Linked DNA regions of Homo sapiens: region 1 is linked to region 2. Evidence: promoter capture Hi-C in 16 types of primary human blood cells and fetal thymus (Javierre and others, 2016). All regions are on one chromosome and are shown on one strand. The core of a region is centred on a gene start or on the middle of the fragment in contact, and the rest is flanking DNA. Distances in the headings are between cores, read along the strand shown. Region 1 overlaps LPIN2 (lipin 2). Region 2 holds the start of LPIN2 (lipin 2).

What was found. Contacts are between HindIII fragments. The CHiCAGO score rates a contact against its expected background, and 5 or more counts as called.
Region 1: a fragment that was not itself captured here is called in contact with the fragment with the promoter of LPIN2 in region 2 in 1 of 17 cell types (non-activated CD4 T cells); the score reaches 6.7 in non-activated CD4 T cells.

The regions. Positions count from the first base shown.
Region 1 is chr18:2,969,754-2,972,929 of GRCh38, reverse strand. The region is part of intron 1 of LPIN2 (lipin 2); the gene reads left to right. LPIN2-AS2 (LPIN2 antisense RNA 2) reads right to left here. Exons shown (of 3, transcript XR_001753322.2): 3 at 2,821-2,902. Among named protein-coding and RNA genes, the nearest start is that of LPIN2-AS2, 4.3 kb to the right of the region's middle. RefSeq lists an enhancer at 179-328. The HindIII fragment of the contact is 731 bases long and covers 1,410-2,140 here.
Region 2 is chr18:3,011,671-3,014,818 of GRCh38, reverse strand. It overlaps LPIN2 (lipin 2), which reads left to right and starts at 1,675. Exons shown (of 20, transcript NM_001375808.2): 1 at 1,675-1,732. RefSeq lists a silencer at 1,285-2,234. The HindIII fragment of the contact is 8,581 bases long and covers 1-3,148 here.

The sequences.
Region 1 (3,176 bases), core at 526-3,025, 42 kb after region 2:
GTCACCTCATGTACAGAGGTCAAAACTGGGCATATTTTAGCCTTGATGGGAACAGACAAGAATTAAATTATCAGAAAGTTTCATGACAAGGTTTTATTTTCATTTTGGGAAATGAAGGGAGAAGCATTAAAGAGAAATGTGGGAACAGGAACCATTTAGTTTTACAGAGCTATGATAGTTTGAAACAAGTTTGGCCATGTGAATGTTGTCGGGGCTGAGGAAGGGAGTTGGGGCCCCCTTTTGAGGGTGCTGCTTACCGTTTTAGGATCTCCTTAAGCCACACATGTTATTTTGAAATTTAACGATAAAATTGAACACTAGTTTTTCTTGCTCTGTACCAGGTTCTATTTCTGAAGAAAATTAATGTTCTGGTACATTATTGAGCACAGGAAAATTAAACTATTGTTTCCAGCCATTTTCCTTAAAGGCTGTGCTCTGTAGCATAATTATATTGGGCATTTTCGTAAAAGTCAGCTGACTAGTAGAAGATGGATAACTTTGTGGTTGTGTTTCACTTTGTTTTCTGTAATAATGCAGTTACGGCACCCTTGCCCCTGCCTCGGCTGACTTCACACTGACTTCCTCTGATGACCAGCAGTCTCTGCCGCGAGTTGCTGCTGCGCTGCTCAGTATTCTCCAGAATGATCTACTTGGCTGTCATTTGTTCTCACGGGGATATTTTTAGATTTACCCATCCTGAGGCGGTGTCATTTTTGTCACTGACATAGACTAGATTTATGCAAGTTTTTCTCTGTGAGGTCTTCAGCAGCTTCTGGAGGAAAGTATTGGTCTGAACACATGGGCATTGCTTTTGGGACTTTGGGTTAACTTCCACCATGGATTTCTTTTCTTTGTTTTTGTTTTTTTGTTTTGTTTTGTTTTTGATATGGAGTTTCACTCTGTCGCCCAGGCTGTAATGCAGTGGCGCGATCTTGGCTCACTGCAACCTCCACCTCCTGGGTTCAAGCGATTCTCGTGTCTCGGCCTCCTGAGTAGCTGGGATTACAGGTGCCCACCACCATGCCTGGCTAATTTTTGTGTTTTTAGTAGAGAGTTTCACCATGTTGGCCAGGCTGGTCTCAAACCCCTGACCTCAGGTGATCCACCCCCCGCCTCGGCCTCCCAAAGTGCTGGGATTACAGTCGTGAGCCACCGCACCCAGCCTGTTTTTTTTTTTTTTTTCCAGTGCATGGTTATATGTATCTTCACTTACCTCTTGAATTTTACTCTAAGTCAGTGAGATAAAACGCAACACTGTGTATATTTCTCCCTCTCCTTGCTGATTCTGTTCACTAGGTCTTGCATTCATTCATTCATTTATTCATTGGTCCATTCATTGATCCAAAACCACTTATTAAGAACCTACTATTGCTAGGCACTGTGCCAAGCTTTCAGGAAGCAGTGAAGCTTGCGGGACTTTTCTCTTCCTTACCGGAACTCAAGAGTTTGAAGGTAGCCTAAATGTTCATGCCGCGTGGTGGGTGCTGTGGTAGGGAGAGGGCAGGGGGCCTTGGGCACTCACAGCAACAGATCCCATCTTGTGACCTCTGCTTTCTTCTCAGCCGCTGAGCCCACACATCCTCCCCTATCATCTTTTTGATCTTTGCCTTTGTGCTCTGGGGATTCACAATCTGTTGTGGATGTACGTTCCTTTTTGATCCCACTTCCTCCTTACCCAGGGAACCTGAAACATCCTTGCTCCTCTTACGAAATACCAGATTAAGATGAAAACTGGTATTGGCTTTTGAAGAATTGTCCAGAAAATTATTGGGCTGATGACTGGGGTGGGTAGAAGATGGGGGCTGGTAATTTTTGAAGATGAAATAGGTGATGTTTATGGTCCTTCCTTAAGTTATACCTGCTGAAAAGCTGAAGTAGACACTGTCGTTGAGTAAAGGTCTGGGCCGCCACTCGGAGAGAGGGTGCATTGCTATACTGGGAAAGCGTCTTCCCTTTTCTGAGCCCTACTCAGTCCAACAAAGCAGTTCATCTGTTTATAGAAAGTGAGTGTGTTGAAATCATCATAGTGAAGTGAACTCAGTGAGCAGAAGTCTGAGCTTTCAGATTCCCTCAAAGGAAATAACATGGTGACAGATCCAAAAATCCTAATTTAAAACTTATCAGCCCTGAGAACTAAGCTTAAGGCCAGCTTCATATTTTCTCATTTTTAAAAAATTAAAAATTTTTTTCTCAACAGATTAAGTTGTTAAGTAGCATAAAGTGTTATCTGGGTTATGTTTGAAGCATGTTCTTGCTAGTTTTGCCAGGCTGATATTTGCAGGAGGGTGTTTTAGGGCTCCAGGTGGCTTTATCCAGTCAGGATCTAGCCTGTCTGATTTAAGTCCTCTGTTGGCAACATTGGAAATGGACTCTGAACAACCACGCAAAGAAACTTATGACTGGCTCATCGTTCAGAGAGATGCCAAGAGGGCAAGAGCCAGGGCCACCTGGGGTGTCAGTGTTCCAAGCTGGTGGGCCTTCTGCATCCCATCTCAGGTAGCCCAGCCCTCCCAGTCTTGGGTGGCCTTGGCTCTCCATATACGTTTCATGAATATCTGTTTGGGCCAGATGTTTCCCACCCCTGTCAGCCAGCAGATACCAAGACCTGGGTCCCGTATTATAGACATGGCTACTGGGGGCCCACCCTTGTGTTTCGGTGCCTCTCTGAGCACTGAAATCATTGAAATCCAGGGAGCCCTGTTTTTACCTTCAGATCTAGCCATTGCATTATGTGTCTGTTTAAATTCCCAAACAGAAATATTGAATCAGAAAATCCCCTCTTCTTACGTATCCCAAAGGTTGATATTGAGTAATATTTGGTTGTAATTGTGGAAGGGGTCCTTAGGCAAGCAGTCTTCCCAGGCCAGAATTTCTGAGTTTTTTCACAGAAGCACTGCCAGTTCTAGAATTTAAGTATCATAAAACAGTCAGGTCAGCTGTCATTAAAATGTCTAAAATTCTATTACTATCTATTGCTTCCACTTCTGATCCACACTTATCAGACCTTGACATCTTTATACGACAGGATGTGAACTTGAGCCCATAACAACTTAGTCTTCATAACAAACTTAATCAGGCTTAAGAGGAGAAAGTTCTTGCAACAGAGCCTAGAGTTAGTTCCCAAACTTGGGTGTCTGTCAGAATCGTGGGTAACAGATTTTTAAGACCTCATTTCC
Region 2 (3,148 bases), core at 426-2,925:
AACTTGATCGAGTTTCACAGAAAAGCAGAAGGAACTTCAGTGAAGAAGTGGTCGCCTGCTCCCTGAATCCAAGCACTGCCCAGCTACACCAGGCACTGGTGGGAAGAAACTGGGCTGCAGCTGGATCCTTCAAGGAGCAGCTTTGTGTATGCAAATGCCTATTTCAGTACCCTTAGAACTGTATAAATGATCACACACAAGATGCACCTCATAAATTAACTGCCATTTATATAGAAGTAACATAGGCTTCTGTTCATTACTTTCAATCATAGAATAGTAATAGAATAGGCTGCAAATTAAAAACCAGTGTGCACCAATAGTATATAGCACCAGCAATCCAGTTTTTTTTGTTTTTTTTTTTTTTGAGACAGAGTTTCGCTCCCAGGCTGGAGTGAAGTGGCGCAATCTCTGCTCACTGCAACCTCCGCCCCCCGGGTTCAAGTGATTCTACCGCCTCTGCCTCCTAAGTAGCTGGGATTGCAGCCAACATGCCCGGCTAATTTTTGTATTTTTAGTAGAGGCGGGGTTTTGCCACGTTGGCCAGGCTAGTCTCCAACTCCTGACCTCAGGCGATCGACCCGCCTTGGCCTCCCAAAGTGCTGGGATTACCGGCGTGAGCCACCGCGCCGGGCCCCATTTCTTTTCTTTCTGAGACGGAGTCTCTCTGTCGCCAGGCTGGAGTGCAATAGCGCCATCTCGGCTCACTGCAATCTCCGCCTCCCGGGTTCAACTGATTCTCCTGCCTCAGCCTCCTGAGAAGCTGGGATTACAGGCACGCGCCACCACGCCCGGCTGGTTTTTTGTATTTTTAGTAGAGACGGGGGTTTCACCATGTTGGCCAGGCTGGTCTTGAACTCCTGACCTCAAGTGATCCGCCTGCCTCGGCCTTCCAAAGTGCTAGGATTACAGGCGTGAGCCACCCATTTCTTAAAAAGTATATTTTAATGCTGGGGACGGTGGCTCATGCCTGTAATTCCAGTACTTTGGGAGGCCGAGGTGCGGGGATGCTTGAGCCCAGGAGTTGGAGACCAGCCGGGGTAACAGAGCGATAAAAAGAATAAACAAAAAACAACAGAACCCCGGCATATTTTTAAAAATGAGTTGTGTAATAGGATTTTTTTTTTTTCGGTGGAGATGTAAGTAAGCAAAGGAGATGTGCTACTAGTGATCAAAAGGGGATTATAAAACATTCATTCCCTAGACTTTTTTTGCACTTTAACATTCCTTTTTGGCAATTGGGCTCTCAGTCCCACGTGACCTGCCGCAGGGTTGCCATGGGGACCGGAAGAAACTTTTTTTTTTTAAAACAAAGTAAGGCTCCTGTCGCCCGAGGCACTAGAAAATCGAGGCCCCGCCCTCACTTGGCCAGGGGCCCGGGCGCGCAGCCCAGGGACTGGGAGCGGTGAGAAGCCGCACGCCTGGCGCTCGGCGGCGGGGGCGCGGCGCGCGGCCGGGAGCGCGCGTCACGTGGCTGGGGCGGGGCCTGCGCGCTGCCCGCCCGCCAGCTGCCGGCTCGGCCGCCGCAGCCGCGGCGTCCCATTCATGAGGGCCGCCCGACTCAGCTGCGGCCCAGGCGGCTTCCAAGGCAGCGGCGGCTGCGGGCGCTCCGACCCCGCGCGCGCCCCCGACCGGCCCCGCCCCCTCGGCTTCCCTCCCCGGCGGGTCCTAGCCGTCGCAGTCCAGCCGCCGCCTGCCCTCAGCCGCCCGCTGGCCGGGAGCGGAGCCCCTGTGGGTAAGTGGGCGCGGGCCGGGCTCCTCGCAGGCGTCCCTCCGGGGCTGGCGGTGAGTGTCTGCGCCTGGGGGCTTCCCTTGGCGCGGGCCCGGGGCTGTCCTGCCGGAGGCCGGGACCCTCCGGGGCGGCGCGGGTTGAGCCGCCCCTCCTCGCGCCGCGGTCCCCGCTTCCCGGTCCTCGCGTCCCAGTCCCCGCCTCGCCGCGACCGCGCCACGTAGACGCGGCCCCTACCGCCGCCGCCGCAGGACGGACCGGCGGGGTGCGCGGGGAGCCGGGGGCGTCGGGGCGTCAGTGGTGGCTGCTGAGGACTCTGAACCCGCGCAGTTCCCTCGCCGCCGCCCTGGGGATGGTTACCCGAGACCACCCCTACCCCTGGGTTTGGGGCGCGGAGGGGAGTGCGGAAGGCGCGCGGGAGGCCGCGTCTCCATCCCGCCCCCGGCCCTGCGGGAGGGGGCGCCGGGCACGTGATCTGCGGCGAGGCGGGGGCCGCCGAGTTGCTGGTGTTTCTTCCCCGCCGCGCTTTGCCCCGTACCTCCGCCTTCAAGCTGTGTGGACCGGATTCAAATGTGGTTAGTTTTCTCAAAGCCCCCCAGCCCCCGGTGCAGATCTTAATTTGTGAGGAACACGTTCAGATACAGTTTGTACTGAGAGCCTCTCTGTCCACTTCTAACGCCAGCGGATCACCATTTTCTCCACTCGCCTGAACATTTTAAGACTCTTTTCATTGAAAATTCAAGATGACATTTTTTAGGCATAATTATGCAAACCAGTACCAGAAAGATCACCCTTCCTTTCCGAAAAGTACTGGAACTCTGAATACTTGGAAATGCTTTGAAGGACTACTTAGTAAATGGCCAAACTAATTTTTAATGCACATTTGGGGCTTACCCATTTTTTTTTTAATTGAAAACGAGGCTCTAGACTTGGTGTCAAGGTAGGTCCTGTTGAATGAAGTTCTTTACCCAGTAGTGATGATGGGTGTTACTGTTTATTAAAACTTGGCCTGGCTAGATTATAATGTTTTGACAATACAAAGTCGGTTTTGAAATACATTTTGAAATATTTACGAATTATTTAGTGGCCCATACTGGTTTATGTTTTAACGGTCTGGTGTTGATCGTTCTTAGTGGCTTCAGATTGAGAAGAAGTGGCAGGTGATGCTGAAGCGGGGGAGAAGCGGCAGAGCCGGCCACACAGTGCAGGGGATGGAGACAGGTGCTGGGCTGGTCCTCCTGCAGCATCCTCAGTTGTTGGAGGGCAGTCATCCTCAGGCCGTACCCAGCCAGAGAAGAAAAAGAACAGTGTGAAGCCACGTGTGATAGCCGTCCAACATCGGCTCTTCCCTCCAATTACATTGTAGTTGATTGTGGTATGTCAGACTGAAGTATCTCTTTTATTTCGAGACAGAGTCTCACT